4 separate regions of the Homo sapiens genome follow, and regions 1, 3 and 4 are each linked to region 2. Evidence: promoter capture Hi-C in 16 types of primary human blood cells and fetal thymus (Javierre and others, 2016). All regions are on one chromosome and are shown on one strand. The core of a region is centred on a gene start or on the middle of the fragment in contact, and the rest is flanking DNA. Distances in the headings are between cores, read along the strand shown. Region 1 overlaps CACUL1 (CDK2 associated cullin domain 1). Region 2 holds the start of SEC23IP (SEC23 interacting protein). Region 3 overlaps FAM204A (family with sequence similarity 204 member A). Region 4 overlaps CASC2 (cancer susceptibility 2).

What was found. The method cuts DNA at HindIII sites, captures the fragments that hold promoters and counts their contacts. A CHiCAGO score of 5 or more calls a contact.
Region 1: a contact is called between a fragment that was not itself captured here and the fragment with the promoter of SEC23IP in region 2, in 1 of 17 cell types (total B cells). The highest score is 8.2, in total B cells.
Region 3: a fragment that was not itself captured here is called in contact with the fragment with the promoter of SEC23IP in region 2 in 1 of 17 cell types (naive CD8 T cells); the score reaches 5.1 in naive CD8 T cells.
Region 4: a fragment that was not itself captured here is called in contact with the fragment with the promoter of SEC23IP in region 2 in 1 of 17 cell types (neutrophils); the score reaches 5.7 in neutrophils.

The regions. Positions count from the first base shown.
Region 1 is chr10:118,728,018-118,733,092 of GRCh38, reverse strand. It overlaps CACUL1 (CDK2 associated cullin domain 1), which reads left to right. Exons shown (of 9, transcript NM_153810.5): 2 at 2,683-2,809; 3 at 3,696-3,798. Among named protein-coding and RNA genes, the nearest start is that of CACUL1, 24 kb to the left of the region's middle. The HindIII fragment of the contact is 1,696 bases long and covers 701-2,396 here.
Region 2 is chr10:119,889,226-119,894,112 of GRCh38, reverse strand. It overlaps SEC23IP (SEC23 interacting protein), which reads right to left and starts at 1,383. Exons shown (of 19, transcript NM_007190.4): 1 at 1,168-1,383. The coding sequence starts at 1,330. RefSeq lists enhancers at 1,135-1,645, 1,646-2,156, 2,157-2,668, 4,469-4,887. The HindIII fragment of the contact is 6,362 bases long and covers 1-3,411 here.
Region 3 is chr10:118,334,715-118,339,741 of GRCh38, reverse strand. It overlaps FAM204A (family with sequence similarity 204 member A), which reads left to right. Exons shown (of 9, transcript NM_022063.3): 3 at 3,319-3,560; 4 at 4,101-4,188; 5 at 4,316-4,346; 6 at 4,529-4,628. The coding sequence starts at 3,327. Among named protein-coding and RNA genes, the nearest start is that of FAM204A, 5.1 kb to the left of the region's middle. The HindIII fragment of the contact is 2,749 bases long and covers 117-2,865 here.
Region 4 is chr10:118,049,768-118,054,994 of GRCh38, reverse strand. It overlaps CASC2 (cancer susceptibility 2), which reads right to left. Exons shown (of 4, transcript NR_026940.1): 3 at 2,799-2,864. Among named protein-coding and RNA genes, the nearest start is that of RAB11FIP2, 5.4 kb to the right of the region's middle. The HindIII fragment of the contact is 9,287 bases long and covers 1-5,227 here.

The DNA.
Region 1 (5,075 bases), core at 299-2,798, 1.2 Mb after region 2:
CCAGCTGGAGCCATAGCATGTGGTTTATTGAACTAAGCATTTTAGGAGCCCAGAAGATAGGTATGTTAATTACTGGTGTTACTACTTGCAGTTTTCTTTTTGAGCGTGTTATCTAACCTTCAACTCTCAACTTTCGGTGTAGAGAGGTATTTCATGTGGTTTAGGTGGTACACTGATAAGGGATTCTGTAACTCAGAATCACACAGTGAGAATGTAATTTCTTTTTCAGTTTTCTTTGAATCCTAAGGATTACATAAATACAAAGGTCATATTCTAGAGCCTAGTGTGTAACACTTTTCAGTATCAAGAGCAAGACGGTGACCCTGGGAAGCAGCTCTAGGGGGATTGGGGAAGTGAGGCAGGGAAGGTAAGGAAGCCAGTAAGGTAAAGTCACCACTGTAGGCAGCTGGAGCTTAGTACCAGTGGGGAGCTCTGGGAGTCAGTATAGCACAGGGGCCTTAGAGTCGCCTCACCCAAAAGGAGAGGGAGCTACTGGTGGTAATGACACTGAATCCTCAGTAGTCATTGGTTGAAGGCTGCTTTGGGGTTAATTCTCCCACAATTTCTTACCTGCTCCTCCCGCAAGCAGAGCAAGCTCTGGCAGCTGGACAGAACATTGAGAGAAGTAGTCGTAGGGTGTGGATGGGGTAAATGGGTGGGGCACCAACAGTATCTGCTATGCCCGCTGGACAGCTAAGCTTTTCGTGCAGTCTTCCTCATTTTAGTAAACGACAACCCCATCCTTCGGTGCTGAAGCCAAAAACTTTGGAGCCACTCGACCTTTCTTTCACATCTCACATCTAATCTATCAGCAAATCTTGTTGACTCTGTTTTTAAAATATCTTCAAAATCTGATCTCTCCTTATTGTCCTCAGTGCCACCATCTGGCCCAACCCCATATCAGCTCACAGCCTCCAAACTTAGTTTACCCTCAGCACAGCTGCTGGAATGATCCATATAAAACCTAAGCCAGATCATGTCACTCCTCTGCTCAAAACCCTCCAGAGAGGCTTCCACCTTAGAGTAAAAGTCAAAGTCTTTACAATGGCCCATAAGGACCTACATGTCTGGCCTCTTCCTACTGTTATGTTTGCGCACGTGCATGTACGGTTCTTTTTGTCTTTAGCTTTACATTAGTCAAAACACTCCTTTATTCCCCATTCCATTCAGTGTGGGTTATGTGATTCATTTGTAATTCGGTTCATTTTTTGTGTTTTGCATTTCATCTTTACCACTACAGCCTTGTTGATTTTTTAAATTTACATAGTAATTTGATGTACAGTTCTTTTGGTCTTGACAAATGCGTGAAGTGGTGTATCCCCCACCATAGTTTCATGCAAAACAGTTAATTGCCATAAAAATTCCTCCATGCTACTGCTTTATAGATAATCCTTCTCCCCACCTTCCAGCCCCTGTCGACCACTGATCTGTTTTCCTCCCTATAGTTTTGCCTTTATTAGTATCATGTAAATGGGACTCTTAGAATATGTAGCCCTTTGGGTCTGGCTTCTTTCACTTAGCAAAATGGATTTAAGATTATGCCATGTTGTTTTGTGAACATTCCTCAGTAGTTCATTCCTCAGATGTCCTGTAAAATAAAATTAAATAACAGAAGTGGATTGATTTAAAGAAAGTATTGAACAAAAATGATATAGATGGTACATAGAAAAAAATCTTGAACCTGGATGACTAAGGTGTGGAAATCGATAATGTGATAAAAAGATACTGGGAAGGCTTTGCTTTACCTGGTATCTCTGACAGTAATGAGCCTTGAGTTCTTGAGGAAGTCACTTAACCACTCTGCTTCCTAGTCTGGTAAAATAAACAGTGAAATACCTGGTCTCGTTGTTGTTACTCCTGAGGTAACTGTGATTCATGACACAGAATATAGGCAGGTTCTTCTGGTAGCTCTTTTTTTAATATTAACATTTCAGTGCCGTGAAGCAACTGTTACCTGGATTTCAAAGCTGTTAGGATCCACTGTACAAATGCTTTGTGGAAACCTGTAGTGTGGGAGTAAGAGCCTGTCTGTAGGAATGAAGTAAGCCTCAGCGCAGGGTCCCAGTTCACTGACTTCTTTTCTGTTGGGCTTATCCAGTTTAAGATAGTAGCAGCCTGAGTTGGAGCTGTAGTAATGATGAAGAGGTGCTGGTGTTGTTGTAAATCTCGGCAAGTTTTACAGCAACCTCTTTGTGATTGCAGCATTTGGACCTTAATCCTCATAGTCCTGTCCTTAGGCACATTTCCTCGAGGATGTCTACAAAGATTGATTGTTGGTGTTCACGATTTCTCCAAATTTTCCTGTGGTTCATTGATAGGCCATTTTGTCACATAATTGGCAGTGTGTATTTGAGGGTCAGAGCATGTTTGAGACTGCTCCACTAATGACAGAAGCTTACAGGAAACCCAGAAGGAAGCCAGTGATGATTGCTTGTTTGGTTGTTATTTTTAAAGATGGACAGGTTCATACTAACTTCTCTTAAATCCATGATTAATGGCTGCTTAACATCCTTGACCAGGTTGCCTTTTTTGTTTTTAATTGAAATAGGATAGTTAGGTGATAGAGTGTCAGTGTAAAATCAGAAGAGTAAGTGAGAGGAATTTGAGAGTGCAAAATGGCTGTGATTTGTGTTTGCTCCACATGTGGCACGTAGTAATATTTATTTTACTTTTTACTTTTAGTAATGAATGTTATAACTATTGAAGATTATAAGAGCACATACTGGCCAAAATTGGATGGTGCCATAGATCAACTTTTAACTCAGAGTCCTGGTGACTATATCCCCATATCCTATGAACAGATATACAGGTAAGTTAAGATTTAATTTGCTTGGGTTTGAAAGGGTATACTAAGGTTCAAGGCACTTGAATTATGCCTCACACAAACATGTAATGTAGAATGCATAAGATGAGGCTCTGTAAGTGTTTTATGTATTCCACACTTACGGATTGGAGGGTTTGGTTTATACTTTTTGATTCAAAAGTGGTTTTCAGATCATGACAGAGGAAGCCTGCCACCTCCACCATACATAATGCAGACACTGTGGAAGTCAGCAATAAAAGCAAGAATGACTGAAGTATCTGGTGTAAAAATCATATTTTTAGTCTCAGAGGGAGACCTTAATCTGTTGGTGTTTATTGACACACAATTCTAACTCTCTTTGGTTATTTTGTTTCTCAGCTCCTGTTAATGGAAGCAGCAAATTAGGAAGTGGGGTGGGATATGAGATCAGCACAGTGAAAGGAGGAAGTGACAAGTATGTTGTTCCACACAGCTGATGTACAAAGAGGTTGTATTGCAAACACTTCCGTGAGTTAGAAACCTCTCTCTACTGATTATCAACCACTCTCTCTTCCTTATTTTGACATTCATTTAAAAAGAGAGAGAGAACCTGGTTTATAAATAGTTATCATATTCAGACCTTAGATTCTCACCTACTATTAGATTCTCTAGTACTGATTAAATGTGTAATACACTACTTAGAAGGGCATATTTATAGCAGATGGTACTATCTTTTCCATCCGAACACCGATGGGGGAGGATAAAGTTTTTATTTAAAAGTTGTGATTGGTTACTTTTTGAAGGTATGAATTATTGGATCAGTGGTTATATATCAAAAGTGTGCTTTAACCTTGGACTGAGTTAAGTGCTTTATGATTAACTTGGTTTGTGGGGGTTTTTGTTTGTTTTACAGTTGTGTGTATAAATGTGTATGCCAGCAGCACTCGGAACAGATGTATAGTGATCTGATTAAAAAGATAACTAATCACTTAGAGAGAGTCTCAAAGGAGCTGCAGGTAAAGAACTGATTGTATTGATTTTTGCTTCCTTGGGTTTTCCTGACTGGTTGCAGTTAGCTTTTCTAATACACATTTGGAAGCTTGTTAATTTGATTATGATATAAATTTATAAATGTTTTCTAGGTGAATGTTGATCAAATCATGTAATTTTTGGAATAGATTGTTAATTTGAAAATTTGGTATAAATTGTGGAAATTTTTGGATTAAATATATTTCAGACCTTAACTGATTCTATTGATTATCATGTCAACATTTCTTTTATTTAAAACTTTATTTTTTTCTGTCAATGTCAATATTTGGTGACTTTTATGATACAAAAATATGTGCATATTTTAACTTGTTTTGGAACTCGTATTATCATCTTTGAAGAGTGGTTTGCCTACTGATTTATAATACCTTTCAATATAAACAACTGAAGTAAACACTTTATTGATAAACCTCCTGTAAATAGGCATCATCTCAGCTCTAAAATCTGGGGCAGGTTGCAGAAAAACTCCTGTTTAAGGGAGCACTTAGCTTGATCCTCCCCCTGCCCACTTCAGTAAACCTTCAGTGCTTGAAGATCAGGTATTATTAAGTTGGTGCAAAAGGAATTGTGGTTTTTGCCTTTGAAAATAATGACAGAAACCTCTGTTACTTTTGCACCAACCAAATAATCTTTATACCAGGGCTTGATCCCACTTTGCTTTTGGTATAGAAGTAGAAGAATGTCTAGAAAAATCACTCAGCAATCCCAGCACTTTGAGAGGCCGAGACAGGTAGATCACGAAGTCAGGAGATCGAGACCATCCTGGCCAACATGGTGAAACCCCGTCTCTACTAAAATTGCACACTCCTGTAGTCCCAGCTACTCAGGAGACTGAGGCAGGGAAATCGCTTGAACCCGGGAGGCGGAGGTTGCAGTTGGCCGAGATTGCGTCGCTGCACTCCAGCCTGGCGACAGAGCAAGACTCCGTCTCAAAAAAAAAAAAAAAGAAAAGTCACTCAGCAATAGATTACCAGGGTCTATACCACAATTAGGAAGCACCCCAGCAGTTTTGAAATAACCACAGTTTATAGCACATGCTGGGGTGTGCTTTGGGCTTGGATATTGTTCTTCACAACTTGTGGTCTGAGATAGCTTAGTTTTTTTGTGTTTTTTTTCCCCAAACAGTTGTTGCACTAAGTAGCATTTTGTTTTCTGTTTCAAATGATAGAGCTGTGTTTTGTCATAGTCAGATATATACTTTTCTTGTTGTTAGTATAAATTTCTTTCTTCATCTTTTTGCCGCTAA
Region 2 (4,887 bases), core at 134-2,633:
CATTTCTAATTACAATTCTGTGAGGCTACACATACATAGAAACTGAAGCACAGAGAGGTAAAGTAAAATGCCTACAGTCACACAGCAAGTTACTGGCAGGGCAAGGACTGGAATACAGACAGTCTGTGCTCTTAAACACTATGCTCTGGGCAATGCTACATAATCATCAAAAAGCAATCTCCCTGGACAATAATACAAATATGAAAAAAGAGCTAGGAGTGCACATAGGAGTGGGGGCCTAAGAGAACAAGAAACAGCTTCTTGGAAGAAGTGATGTATTGTCTTGAAAGATGAGGAATGGGTGGGGGGTTAAACCTGTAATCCCAGCACTTTGGGAGGCCAGGGCAGGCGGATCACTTGAGGTCAGGAGATTGAGACCATCCTGGCCAACATGGTGGAACCCTGTCTCTACTACAAATACAAAAATTAGCCAGGCATGGTGGCAGACGCCTGTAGTCCCAGCTACTCGGGAGGCTGAGGCAGGAGAATCACTTGAACCTGGAAGGTGGAGGCTGCAGTGAGCCGAGATCGCGCCACTGCATTCCAGCCTGGGCGACAGAGCAAGACTCCGTCTCAAAAAAAAAAAAAAAAAAAAAAAGATAAGGAATGCATTGTATATGTCTACTTCACAAATATTACAGGCTTCTAGAAGAGGGGCACAGTCCATCTTATAAGATATCTTACTGTAACCTAGAAGATATTGTACTGTATCACAACAATCTCCTAGTAGGAGACAGTGTACCGTATCCTAGGAGAGGGGCACAGTCCATCCTAGGAGGTATCTTACCGTATCCTAGGAGTCTCCTAGTGGGAGACAGACTACTGTACCCTAGGAGAGGGCCACTGTTTAATTTATTTGCATTTCCTGCCAGCACCTGGCGTACCAACAACGGGTATTCAGCAAAGATTTGCGGAATGCCAGGGTACGAATGAATGTCCAGCACTCTGGACAACTCGGAACAGGGGGTTTCCGTGAAGAGCAAGTCTCATCACCTGCCACCTCCAAGATCCCAAAGCCCCCGACCCACTCAAACCTGGCCAGTAATGATCCTGGCAAGCTATCCAGAGGGTAGCTCGAGGCAGAAGGAAAAACTCCCGTCTGACCTTTGTCATTGCACGTCCCCCGCCCGCCTCCCACCACACACGGGGCCGCCCTCCCCTTATTACCTCCCGGTAAGAGCAGGGAGGCCGGAGAAGCGGAGGCCTGGGTGACTGGGATGAAGGGCACATTGAAGCTGAACTCCGTGGCCGAGGAGGAGAAAAGTAAGTTAGTGCCCGATGAGGAAGTGGAGGCGCCGCCGCTGCCACCGTTAGGTTTTCTCTCGGCCATGGCTGCGGCCCACCGTCCGATACACGTCTCCGGGTACCCGGTACCACACCACTGACCGGAAACCGATCACGCTCCTGGCCAGCGCACTTCCGCACTTGCGCACAGGAGCCGAAATTACGGGTAGCTAGTCAGCCGCCCTCTCCCTTCCCCTACACGGCGACGCCAGATATCAACATGGCGACACTGTCTTCACGCCCGCGTCTAGCACGTGACACCCTCGGAGGCGGAGGCCGGGCGGGAGGATGGGGACGTGGTCCCCGCAGGTTCTGGATAGACGTGCGAATTGAGACGCAATTGACCCTGAAAGTCACAGGTTGTGGCGGGTATCTATGGGCTTCCTAAAGGTACCGTCAGGATGGCTCTCCTGACAAAGATTTTGGAGGAACAGCGGAATCCTGCTGGACGCTACCGGAAGGAGGAAGGGAGGAAGAGCGTTGTGCGGGAATGGGAATTCGCATGCTAGGCGGAACCAAACACCCTCTCCAAAACCCACTTGTCTTTCTGGATGGAACCGAACATTGTGGTTGACCCAGAAATAGAAGTGGTAAAACATTTTTTAAGTGTTTAATCCATAGGGAGAAAAAAATATTTCGTTTTATTTTTGTTGTTTTTTGTTTTGCATTTGTTTTTTGTTTTTTTGGTTGGTTTTGTTTTTTGTTTTGAGACAAGTCTGCTGTGTCGCCCAGGCTGGAGTGCAGCGGTGCAGTCTGGGCTCATTGCAATCTCCGCCTCCCGGGTTCAAGCGATTCTCCTGCCTCAGCCTCCGAGTAGCTGGGACTACAGGCGTCCGCCACCACGCCTGGCTAATTTTTTGTATTTTTAGTAAAGACGAGGTTTCACCGGGTTGGCCAGGATGGTCTCAATCTCCTGACCTCGTGATCTGCCCGCCTTGGCCTCCCAAACTGCTGGGATTATAGGCATGAACCACCACGCCTGGCCAAAAAAAATATTTAAAAGAGAAATCAAACCAGACGCCATGGCGCAGGCCTGCAATCCCAGCACTTTGTGAGGCAGAGCGGGAGGATAGCTTGAGCCCAGAAGGTTGAGACCAACCTGGCCAACATGGTGAAACCCCGTCTCTACTAAAAATACAAAAATTAGCCGGGCTTGGTGGCATAGCACCTATATTGCCAGCTACTCAGGAGGCTGAGGCGGGAATATTGCTTGAGGCCAAATTAACCCTGATCTTGCCACTCACTGTGCAGCGAGACCCTGTCTCCTTAAAAAAAAAAAAAAGAAAAAAAAAGAAACCAGGGCATTGAAATTAGAGATCTGACATTTTAGATAGCTTTCTATATCCACAGTAAGCTGACTTACTTCAATCCAGGAGGTACTGTGGATAACTTGGACATAATTGTCATCTTTCATAGTTAGAGATTTTGAAGGAAAATATAACTTAAGCCATATTTCAGCTTCTTGGAGGTTGGGAGAGGAGATACCAAAAGAACGCTCAAAATAATGAAACTCTGCTCAGCTGTTTACACATATATAGAACCTAAGTTTATTAATTCAATAACGATTTCATGTGCTTACTGTCAAGAAAAATTTTTTAAGTGGGACACTCGTTAAAGCAGTAAATTAGATTTTATTTAATGAAAACTATTGCTAGGGAATTGGGTCCAGCATGAACTGAACACAACTTTGCTGAAACAAAAATTTGGAGGCTTTTTAGAGGCTGTGGTGTGCTAAGGGAAAGGTGCTGAGGAGTGTGAAGGGTTGGTTCGTCCTGCAACTAGGCCATCTGGGTGTGTTAATCCATGCTTATCCAGAGGAGACATAATTTTTCTGTCTTCATGACAAGCAGTGGTGTAAGAGAGCAAGGTAGCCACAGGGACTGGGAATGAGAATGAGAACCACCTCCTTGAAGGCTTGCAATTCAAGAGACAAACCCCCAGGTCCTTGAGAAGACAGTTCTCAGTGGTCATGTGTCCGGAGTTGGTTCCTTCCGGTGGGTTCTTGGCCTCACTGACTTCAAGAATGAAGCCGCGGACCTTTGTGGTGAGTGTTACAGCTCTTCAAGGTGGCACAGACCCAGAGTGAGCAGCAGCAAGATTTATTGTGAAGAGCGAAAGAACAAAGCTTCCGTAGCGTGGAAGGGGACCTGACTGGGTTGCTGCTGCTGGCTCGGGTGGCCAGCTTTTATTTATTTATTTGTCACTGCCCTCATCCTGCTGCTTGGTCCATTTTACAGAGCGCTGATTGGTCCATTGTAAAGAATGCTGATTGGTGCATTTACAATCCTTTAGCTAGACACAGAGTGTTGATTGGTGCATTTTTACAGAGTGCTGATTGGTGCATTTACAATCTTCTAGCTAGACACAGAGCACTGATTGGTGTGTTTTTACAGAGTGCTGATTGGTGCATTTACAGTCCTTCAGCTAGACACAGAGCACTGATTGGTGCATTTACAATCCTCTAGCTAGACAGAAAAGTTCTCCAAGTCCCTACTCAACCCAGGAAGTCTAGCTGGCTTCACCTCTCAATCCCCCCTCTAAAGAGGACACCCCAAGAGCTGTTGGGAATTGGGCAATGACCTCTGTAGCTACTTCCTGCTGGATGGGTTGAAGAAGGAGCCCTGCAGTTGTAGTGTCCTCCAGAGGGGAACTCTTTATGCCAGTCAAAGGGCCAGCGGGTTGGTGCAGGGGTCCTCAGTAGAAGTTGTTAGTTGAGCTCATTGGGGTTCCATTTGTAAGACCATCTGTAGCTTGATGGCCTCAATCCTAGAGGAAACAAATTTGACAAGGAGGTTAAAAATACAGGGCCCGAAGGTGAATAATAGCAAGATGGCCATCACAGGACCTAGAAAGGGGAAATGCCATATCGCCCAACTCCAGAGGTTGATATAAGAGTTTGAAAGGCGTTGTCTGATTTCAGAAGCCTTTTCCTGTAAACACCAGGCGGCACCTCATCCTATCCCTGACTGGTTAGTGTAAAAGCAACACTCTTCCCCTAAGAAGGTGCAAAGTCCTCCTTTCTCAGCAGTGAGGAGGTCTAGGCCTCGGTGGTTTTGGAGGGTCACTGCTGCCAAAGAGTCTATTTGGAATTGTAGAATAAGGATAGATTTTGTTATTTCTTGCAAACTGTCTGAGAAATCCTTTGAGAGTGTGTGGTAGTAGGATAATATATGTTACACTGTTAACTTTTAGCAAACTTTACTTTTGTTGAAAACCTTGTAAGTTTGGGATTTCAATTATTCTTTGTATTAATAAGACCTTGTTCAATCCATATTAACTTACAATTGGTATAGATGGCTTCTTCCTGATTCTGTGAGTACTTTAAGGTTTGGCTGAGTACTGATAGCTGGAGCACGTTTGAACAGACCAATTATTAGGCAATTTTCCTAACTCTGCTTCTACAAGAGTTTCCTTATCACTTACTGAATACTCATTGTGTCTTTCTCCCTTAATCGCTGGGGAGGAACCAGCTATAGTCCTGTCCTGAAGGGAGTTCCTCCTAGATCTGGTTGGACCTTTGTATGGTAATTAAGATTTAGATCCCCTGTTAGGAAACCTGCTGGGTTAAGGATTTTTGATAGGAAGGCTATGGGTTGTCAGTGG
Region 3 (5,027 bases), core at 242-2,741, 1.6 Mb after region 2:
AAGTGATATTCAAAACCATAGAGAGAAAAAGGATTCTGAGTCATTTACATTTTCCTTGGGGCTAAAATGATTAAATTGAAAATTATTTGGGTTGCAGGGTAAAAAAAATGAAAGCTTATGAATTAATACATTGGCTGTTATATGGACTTGGCTATAATCTATGCTAAACAAATTTAAGTTTCTGTTTCTCTGATATTCCACGTTTCTGGAGACAGGCTGAGTGAATTTTCACAGTTAAAGGGTAACTTGGGATTATCTGCCTTAAAATAAAGAAATACGCTCTGAAAGGCATAAGTAAGAGACACTTATAGAGAATCATTCTCCACAGCAGCCAAAACAAGAATAACAGGAGGCCTAACATGGTGCCAGTTGGAAACTTTGTGAATGACAAGTATATGCTATGAATAGAAAGACTGTTTTGAAACATGAGTCCAAAGCAAAAGTCACTAAGCAGCCACTCCATATTGGCTGATCTGTAACTGGGCTGCTGCTTACACGGGCAACTCCATTTTGCAGGCTGCACAGTAAGTGGCAGCAGTTATCCGTGTTTATCAGTGACTGCTCAGTCTCCCTTGTATTTGTTTTTTTGAGAGTCACAGGAAAATGGCACATGACTAAAGGTTCTAAAGAGTGGAATTCAAAACCTACCTGATTTGAATTTTGCCTGGATTTAGAGGTGGATTCCACCTTTTTCAAACTATTTTAATTTTTTTTCCTTTGGGTACACTCAAGAAATTATCATACCAGGCAGATGCCACACTGAGGACAGTTTTTAATGCCACATGAGCAGGAGCTAAAAATATATAATTTTGAGAAAATTTAAAAAGCCATAAAAAATGCCTAACTACTTGAAGGCTGATTAGCAACAACAACAGCAAAAAGCATGCCTTCTTCGGGGCAACTGAGACTGCTTCCCAGAGGGAAGCATGTTTGGGTGCCCAGAGCATAGACTATCACCCTGCAGAGATGCTAAAACAGTGGTTTAGTAGGAGACCTGTGCCACTGCCCATTGGAGAGGCATACACGTTTCATGAGCAGTCACATCTAAAGTCCAGGTCAAGGAATACTTGGCTCAAAAACTGAGCAGAAACTTGCTATGTGTATAGCTGTCATTTCGTGAGGCTAGGGATTTTTGCCTGTTTTATATACTTCTGTCCCCAGGGTCTTGAAGAGTGTCTGGCACATAAGTGGGCATGTAAAATATTTTATGGACAGGAAGGGAAAGAGTTATTTCTAACATAGACTCCAGTGATGCTAAGAAATCCAAACCTGAAATTTGTTACTGTTTTAAGTCCTTAAATGATAATGAGCCTAAAGGTATATTATATGGCGGTGGCCAAGTCATACTGGAACTTATTACTGCTTCCTTCCCCTTGCTCTCAGAACAGGAGAAATCTTTTTTATTAATAGCATGACACCTGTTTTTCAATATTGGCATATTTTACATGATGTCTTTTGTGCTATTGGAGTATTTCAAGAGTACTGCTGTCCCAACTTTAAAAATCCACAGACAGGTTTAGGGATAGATCTGGGTTTTATGGGGCCTGGAGCTTATATAACTTCGGGTTTCTTCCTTTAAACAAAGAAATGTAAATTCTGAATAGAAAACTAGGTACAGTGCTTTGGAAGGACCTGTGCAGATGAGGAATCTTGGAGCTTAAGGTTACCATTATCTTCCTAGTAATTTGCCCTCATTTTATTCCTCCATTCAGAAAACCAAACACTAACATTTGTTATAGACACTTCACATCAGATTGTGACTATCAAGGAAGCAAATGATTGCATCAGTTGCTAAGTGAGTGCACCACAATTATTAGAAACTTCAAAACTATCTTATGAACCCTGTCACTCATAATAGAAATGATAAAAATGTAATACATGGCCACAGAAATAATAATAGCAAAGAGAACTTAACATTTATTGAGCCCCTAGGACCTCCTAAACACTGTGTTGAGGGGCTTATCTCATTTAATCCTCAGAATAGCCCTATAAGCAGTATAATTATCCCTGCATTACAGATAAAGAAATTGAGGGTCAGAGATGTCAAATGATTTCCTCATACTACTAGTAGTGTCAGAGTTAAGATTCTAGTTGGAGCAGTTAGATGCCAGAGTCCTTCCTCATAAAAAGCCAACAGAATATTTGGTGAGGATATTTCAGAGAGCCAGCAACTGATGAGGCTGGACCAAAGCCACAAAAAGTAAGATCTGATTCTTTGGACCTGGAAGGAGGTCTTTAAAAGATAAGAGAAATCTGTTATCACAAAATCCCTGATGTGTTTGTCTCAGAGAGAATGGTGGTTTCTTTTGTTTGTTTGTTTGTTTTTTAACTAGGTTAATCACAATATGGGACAGAAAACTGCAAAACAAATTTCCGTCCTTCCATTTTATTCCTTCATATTGATAGTAAATCATGAGCAGTACAACCGGCTTCTCTATTTTAAGCATCTTTTGAAGGAACTGGTTTTGGCTCAATATATGTGCTAAAATAGACTGTGCCATGAAGATCAATAGTGAGTATGTACTTGAGTATTATACTTTTAGCAAATGATAACAATTCTGCTATTTTAAGTCATTTTATTAAACTTAATGGTTCTCTCTACTAATGGACTGTATAGCTAATGCTAAATATTATCTTGAACTTGACCATTAGTTTCCCAAATATAGTATTGTTACTTTAAAAAGCTGTACATTTTTGTTAAATTGTTAGGATTATATTTCATTTAATATTATTTTAGCAAACAGTATTAAACTAAAAAGTAGGATATCCTTTTTACTACGATACCTTCCTCCAACTACTTATGTAGCTTAAAAATTTTCCTTTAGTTATTTTCCTGCTCCTTAGACAAGACGCCCTCTGAAAGCTTTGTCCATTAAATATAGGTGAAACATGCAGTTTTATTCTCTAATTGGTATAGCTTCAAATATGGTATTTTAATCCTAAATTGCTTGCAAAGTATGTTGTTAGGTTTTTAACATTCTTGAGCAATGCTTTACTGAATTTCATGTTTTTTTTAGACAAAACTACTCATATATTAGAGAATCAAGGCTCTATTTTCTTTACCTGTAGGTGTATGTTGTAACAAACTTGTTTAAACAGCTTTTAAACTTCTAAACTTTTTTTTTACTTACACAAGTGAAGATTTTAATTATTTTATAACAGGTTCATTCTATGCCATTTTAGATTAAAAAAAAAAAGTTTAGATGGACTGTTCCCAAACCATTGTTATAATTATTAGGCACCTGGAATGTCTTCTAATGGTCTTAAAATTATTTCTATGGTTATTCTACATGTGTAAATTAATCTTTTTCCTCATAGAAGAAAAGATGTGGAGTGGGCTGCTACCTCCTGGCCTAAATGAAAGTGACGCTGAGTCAAACTCGGAAGATGAAGCTACGTTGGAGAACTCTGGACTTAACTTACAGGAAGATAAAGAGGATGAGAGCATCAGAAAAACAGAAATCATAGATTTCTCAACAGATGAACCAAAAACTGAAACAGAGTCAAATGTAAATGCCTATGAAGAGTGTCCTTCTGGAATTCCCATAGATATGTGGAATGTAGGTTTTCTCTGAAATGCTCTTGCTACAGCCTGTGTGTGTGCACATGCCTCTGTGTGTCTCTGCCCTGGTCAGAATGTGCATGTATTCTTGGGACTTAACAGGGAGGGAGATGGACTCAGAATGCTTTTACTGTTCTCTGAGGCATCGGCCACTTAGATACTTGCGTTTATTTTGTTTTGTTTTTCATAGAAAGACGGAGGGGGAAAAAAAAAAAACCCAAACCACTATGTAGTATTAGCTGTTTGCCTAGCGTGGTACATGAGTAGTTTCTGTCTTTATTTAACCTTTTATTTATCTTTTTTGTTACCTACATGAGCTTCACTCTCAAATTATCAAATGACTTATTTCAAAACAAGTGAATATCAAAACTCAGGTTGTGAGTCTCAGAGAATAGAGCATCTCAAGAACTGACTACCATCATTAAATTGGTATCTTTATACACGCTGAAATATAATTGTTTTATTACTTCATTATTTTTTAAATGCATGTTTTTCTGGAAAGTATATTTGCTTCTCAATTTTTTTTTCTTTTACATAGAAATTTCAAGAATTGCATAAAAAACATTCTGAACAGAAAAGCACAACCTCAAGATTCAGAGGGAAAAGAAGAAAACGCTCCAGAAAAGGTGTTTTGTTTTAACTCAGGTTGTTCGTCGTGCTAATGCTAAGTTGTGACTGAGTTTAACCATTTTTTTAAAATATGGTTTTGAAATTACTGAAGTTAGGTATTGACACTTTGTGAATTCTTTTCAGATAAATTGAAGAATGAAAAAGAATTACATAGGTAGGTAGAATTTAAAATAGTTATCTATTTTAGGCCATTGTAGAAATTGTTGAACTAATTGTTTCTGATAGTAATCAAACATATGAACTAGTAATTGTAGTATAATTGTAGTAACCGATTAAAAACAGTAAAAGTAAAGACAGTATATATTGTATAAAACAAAACTTACTATCTTCTTTTAGTGAACCGTCCTCAAATGAAACCCAGTGGAAAGAGCTTACTCAGTATTTTGGAGTCAATGATAGATTTGACCCGCCTGTTAAAAGGAAAAAAGTTGAGAAGGTAATATCTTTGTTATTGCATCTTATACCAGCTAGTAGGATATGTTTGTGATTAGCCTCGCCTAAAGTACTTGTCCTCATTAATTCATTCAGTTAAAAAGATGCCTACTGCATACCAAAAAGGGTGCTAGATAAGTAAATATATAGTTACAAATTATTAAAAAACTGTTAAGAGAAAGAACAGGTTGTTGTGAAAATATTAAAATGGGGGCTTCACTTTAGCATGGATGGTCAGGGAAAGCCTTTCATAGAAGGTGCCACGTCACTGAGACCTGAAGGATGGAAAAAACTGTCTATATAAAGAATGCTAGCGCAGAGGCATGGATAAAGATCCTAGGGAAGAGTCGTCCTGGGACATTCCAGTAACTGTAGGAAGGCCAGCCTGGCTGGAATGGGGTCA
Region 4 (5,227 bases), core at 686-3,185, 1.8 Mb after region 2:
CTGGATGGTCTATCATCCATTTGCCCAGCTCCCATGCTCAACAAGTGGGGAGGCGAGTGGAAAGGTCTTGGAGACATTCCACCTGTCCAACTATCTTGATCTTCTTTACAAGCTCCCTATTCTTCACTTCGTCCAGTGAAATCCTTGTATAGTGTAGGTCTTTCATTAATTGCATTCTTCCCCAATTTTTTCTTTACTGCATAAATTTTGGCTTTTGTTATATCTTCCCCTATTGTCTACTTTGAAATGGAAAAGCGGAGAAGTGACTCTGTTGCATGCCTTGGCCTCACTTCTCTGGAGCAGTTAGTCTAGCTCTCCTAGCTACTGCCTGAAACTAGGCGGAAGGTCATAAGGAGGCCAGCAATTACTAGGAATAAGAACAACATAAGTTATTATCAAGATATTATCAACCTTGCAACCACATGAGCTTGTTAAGGCATGTTTTTCCAAGAAGGCACTAGGTTTGCCATTGCACAATACATTTAAATTTAGTCTGTTTTATTAATACAGTATATTGTCCTGTAATAATCAATTTGACTCATCACATAATTTATCTGCATATATTTATCTTCTTAACTATCAAATTTTTATTTATCCTTCACATGTTCCTTAGCTTATAAAGTTGAGTTGGATTTAACATAATTTGAATGATGGTAAATTAGAATTCTCTTGCTTTTAAATGTTCCACTGTTATTTTAAGCAACCTTTGATGCTAGAAGAAAAAAGTGTGCATGCTAATAGGTATACATTTAATAGATACAAGACTAAAACCATAATAAAATTTCATATTTGTAAAATTCTTTACAGTTTACAGAACGATTCTACGTGCATTATTGTGTTTTATTCTCTAGCAAGTGTCTACTGTAGGTTGAGTTAGTGTGTAAGTCCTGATCTCCCGAATGAAAACTCAACATTTTTCCACAAGGAACAGACTATTAGCATTTTGACATTTGGTTATGAAGGCAGAAGAGTTCAGTGATATCCTAGGTCACCCTTTGTCCGTGCATAAAGTTTATTACTATATTTCAATTTCTCTGCAGTTTATGGAGGCCAAACACCACAGTATATGTTGCTGCTCATCGAGTATGTCATGCGGCACAAAATAGATCAATTATCTTTTGCTTGTCTCTGAGCTTTCACTGAAGCGGTGTTAGGACCTGGCATCATGTCAAGGATGCTCTGATAATGCTTAAAGCCAACTGAAGTACAAGAGTTGTCCAAAGGATATGAAGGATCTGTTTCTCAAGTGTCCTGATGTGAACAATGCCTAAAGAGAGTTCTCCCACAACCTCATCTCCTTTGTAACAGGATAGGAAAAAAAGTGGTAATGTGTGTATTGGCTGTTGCTTTATCTCTTTCAAATTAAATGAGATTGAGATGTTAATGAATGCAGTGTAAGGCATGTCATCAGCAAATGTCAGCTATTATTATTATTAAAATTGAGATAACAGAGTTAACATTAGAGTAGCAAATGGAAGTTAGAAAATATTGGTTAGCACCAAGGTGATAATATTGGGAGGCAGGGCCCCTGGCAGAGCCCTCTTGACTGGGATTAGCACTTTTATAAAAGAGACCCCAGAGAGCTGGCTCATTCCTTCTACCCTTGAGGACACAGTGCAAAGACTGTCATCTAGGAGGAAGAGGGCCCTCACTAGACAACCATTCTGCTGGTACTTTGGTCTTTGACTTCCCATCTCCAGACTTGTGAGAAATACATTTCTGTTGGAAGGAAGGAAGGAAGGAAGGAAGGAAAAGGAGGAGAAGGAGAAGGAGAAGAAGGAGGAGAAGGAGAAGAAGGGGAAGGGGAAGGGGAAGGGAAGGGAGGGGAAAGGGGAAAAGGGGAGGGGAAAGGAGGAGAGGGAGAGGAAAGGGAAGGAGAGTATGGATACACTGGTTAGCAGAATGTTTGTTGTAAGATTCACAGGACGTTATATTTTTGTTTTTAAATTTATCATAATTCTCTCTGAAGTGAAAATCTAGAATATTAAAATACTACCTGGTACATGATCTACTACATAAATTTCCAATTTTGCTACGTATAGGTATATAATGTAAGGAGTTATTTTTCTTCAACTCAAGGATCTGATTCATTTTTATAAAGTTGTTAAAATGATACCTAGAAAGTCATTATTGAATTTTAAAAGAAGGTTTGAAATACTATTAAGGGCTTATTCTATGTTACTTTTGTTTAGAAAAAGAGTATCCAATAACATTGAGTTTGGCTTGAAACAAAAATAACTCAGGGTCTCCATTGCTGGGTTACAGGGGCACCTGCCACAGCTCAGGATCCTTAATTATTTGGTGAGGAACAGTCCAGACCAATTGCTGTGTAGCCTTTGCCTTCAGATAGGAGGAAAGTAAGTACTTGGAAAAGAAGGGACACATCATCAAGCCAACAGCAACAAGCATCTTTTGAGCACTTCCTATGTGTCAGGCCCTCTCTGTACTTTTACCTGATTCCCCTATTTAATCTTCCCAACAACCCACTTTGCAGATGAGGAAACCTAAATTTGGAAGGTTTACACAATTTGCCCAAGGTCACACTGTTATTAGTGCCCGGGGACAAAAATCTACCACAGGGTGAATACTCAACAGTGTTCAGTGTCTCCATCCAAGGAACTTTGCAGCAAATCTTGTTTCAGAAAGCGTTACAAGCCCTTGATTCCTGAGGTGCCTAATTCAGAAGACTTCACTTTTACAAAGCTAGCTTGCTCAATTTTTTTTTCCAATGTCCAAGTGTAGACAGAAAGGAAAATGAAGACCATCAAAATTATAAAGGTGATCTGGGCAAAACCTACCTTAGAAATTCATGCAACACACTTCTTACTCGGAATAGGGTTCTTTGAAAAACTTCCTTAATTTTCCTGTGTTAAAAGAACATAGTTATGGGCACAAATTGCACAATCCATATACCTTCTCATCTTGCATAAACTTGATAAAAAAAACAGTAAAATGCATTTTCTCATTGATTTGAATCTATTGGGAAGCCATTCTGGATAACCCAAGATCCAAGTTTGGAGAGAGAAGAAATGTAAAATTCACTGTTTTCTGGAAGAGGACTTTAAGTTGCTCAAGGTCATATACAACATTAGTTTTTTAAGCCAGAAGATTTCTGTCCACTATACTACATAATTCCTGAAATGAGGTATCTCCTTTAGGTATACATTGCTAAGCAACATCTTATGCTCAGTTTTGGCTGTACAGATCAGCCATGATCATTCCAATAACCAGAAAATGATTATAATACATACTGGCAACAACCTATAGGTGCACTGAAGGTGACCTAACCCAGAATGTGTAAAAGATAAGCATACAGTTCTAAGCCCAAAGTGCTTTTATGATCAGATATCCAGATGGACTAAAACATTGTTCAGGTCAGTTGAAAGTTGCTTTAGGAGAAATGTTTAAAATCTGGCCCTGGAACAAGAAGAGTTGGATCTATCCTTCAAAATGTCATTTTCCCCCAGGCTTTATATCAAACACACAAAATATAACAAATAAAACAAAACACAACAAAAGCCCTTTACTTTTTTTAACATAGATCAAATAAGTAGAAAGGCAGAGAACAGTCGATCTCACATGGGGGAAAAAACCACCACCACAAAATGTTTTTGCCATCCGCCCACCGGTTTAATGCTCTCTAAATGAATGTATTTCCAGAAATATTATCCCAGAAATTTTATGGATTCCAGGCCGTCCTAGAAATATTATAATTTGAATACCCCGTTCTTTGTTTAAAAAATATCCCTGTCTTGGATTTTAATTGAACATAAAAAATTTAGCAGATGTTTACAAAGTACAAATATGATAAGTTTATATAACTCTGCTAATCATTGCCTTCAGGAATAATCAAAACTCTCCAGCCCTTATTAACCCGCACCTAAATCTGTAGAAGCAGCAATGTTCTGGAAGATTTCAGAAAGACTCATGATGATGAGACAATTGAAATTTGAAGACAAATACCAAAGTAGTCACAAAATCTTCTTCCAATAGCAATAATCTCTGCTTCTCAGTAAATATAACAAAAGGAGTTTGAGAATTCTGGATTTGGAAGGAGTCCCTGAGGCACAGACAGAATATGGCTTGCCAGGTCTATAACTCCTTAGTTTGTAGAACCAGGATTAGAATTCAAGTCTAATACTCAGGCCCATGGGTGTTCCATACTCTCATTCACAAACTCCCAATAATTTCATCATCAATTACCAAAACAAATCCCTGCATATGTGCATAGGAGATATATAGATGTTTATGCAGCATTGTTTATGATAATTGAAAAAGTGGAAATAACTTAAATGTCCTTTGGAAGGAGAAAAGATCAAATGGGGCTTATTCATCTCACCCAATGCCATATACCAGTTAAAGTTAATCAATTCGTGTTCTATGCATTAATATGCATTTTGTTGTAGGAATAAAAATTATACAATGGAATACTATGATACTATGAAAAGGAAATTGAAAGATGTTCCCATACAAAACCTTCTTATATGCAAATGTGTATTTTGCTCCGTAAATTCTTACCAATCTCAGCATATTTTCACAGTTCAAAAAAGCTACAAATAATACAGATAGAAGTTATAAACTTATTACTACAATTAAAAAGTTCAAGGCTGCTCAAAACCACTTGCACATACATGCAATTTCTTCCAAATCTTGAGCTGTTGGTGTCAATTGCCTCATGCAGAGCCTATTAATAAAACTTATATTCACTTGCTTTCTGTGATCATTAATTACCTTCATTTGGGAGACAGAGCTGTCAGGAAATCTTAAAAAATAATTTTTTTCTCCTGAATTAGAGAATTCTTTATTAATATGTTACATAAAAAGGAAATCTGCTTTAGTATATTGACCAAATTCAGTTAGATAATTATAATGCAATTTGCTTCTTTGCGTTGTGGATATACTATGTAGAATCTTTAAATGTTAGAGGATCCTTTGGTGGCTGCTATAAAAGTCTCATTTTACAAGACAGCCCAAAGAAGAAAAATGACTTCCCTAAAGAGATGTAGCTAGTAATAGGCAGCCCTGGGATTAAGACCCAGGCTGCTGACTAGAGCTCTTTACACTACATACCATGTTACTTCTTGGGCATCACAAAATGTATCCACACACTGCCCAATCCCAGAAGAGAAATTGATCAGTCCAGCGATGAAAACAAAACAAAACAATCCCCAAAAATCCCCAAATGCCAGTTCATTGCCATAATAATTTCAAGTCAATTTGCCAAATA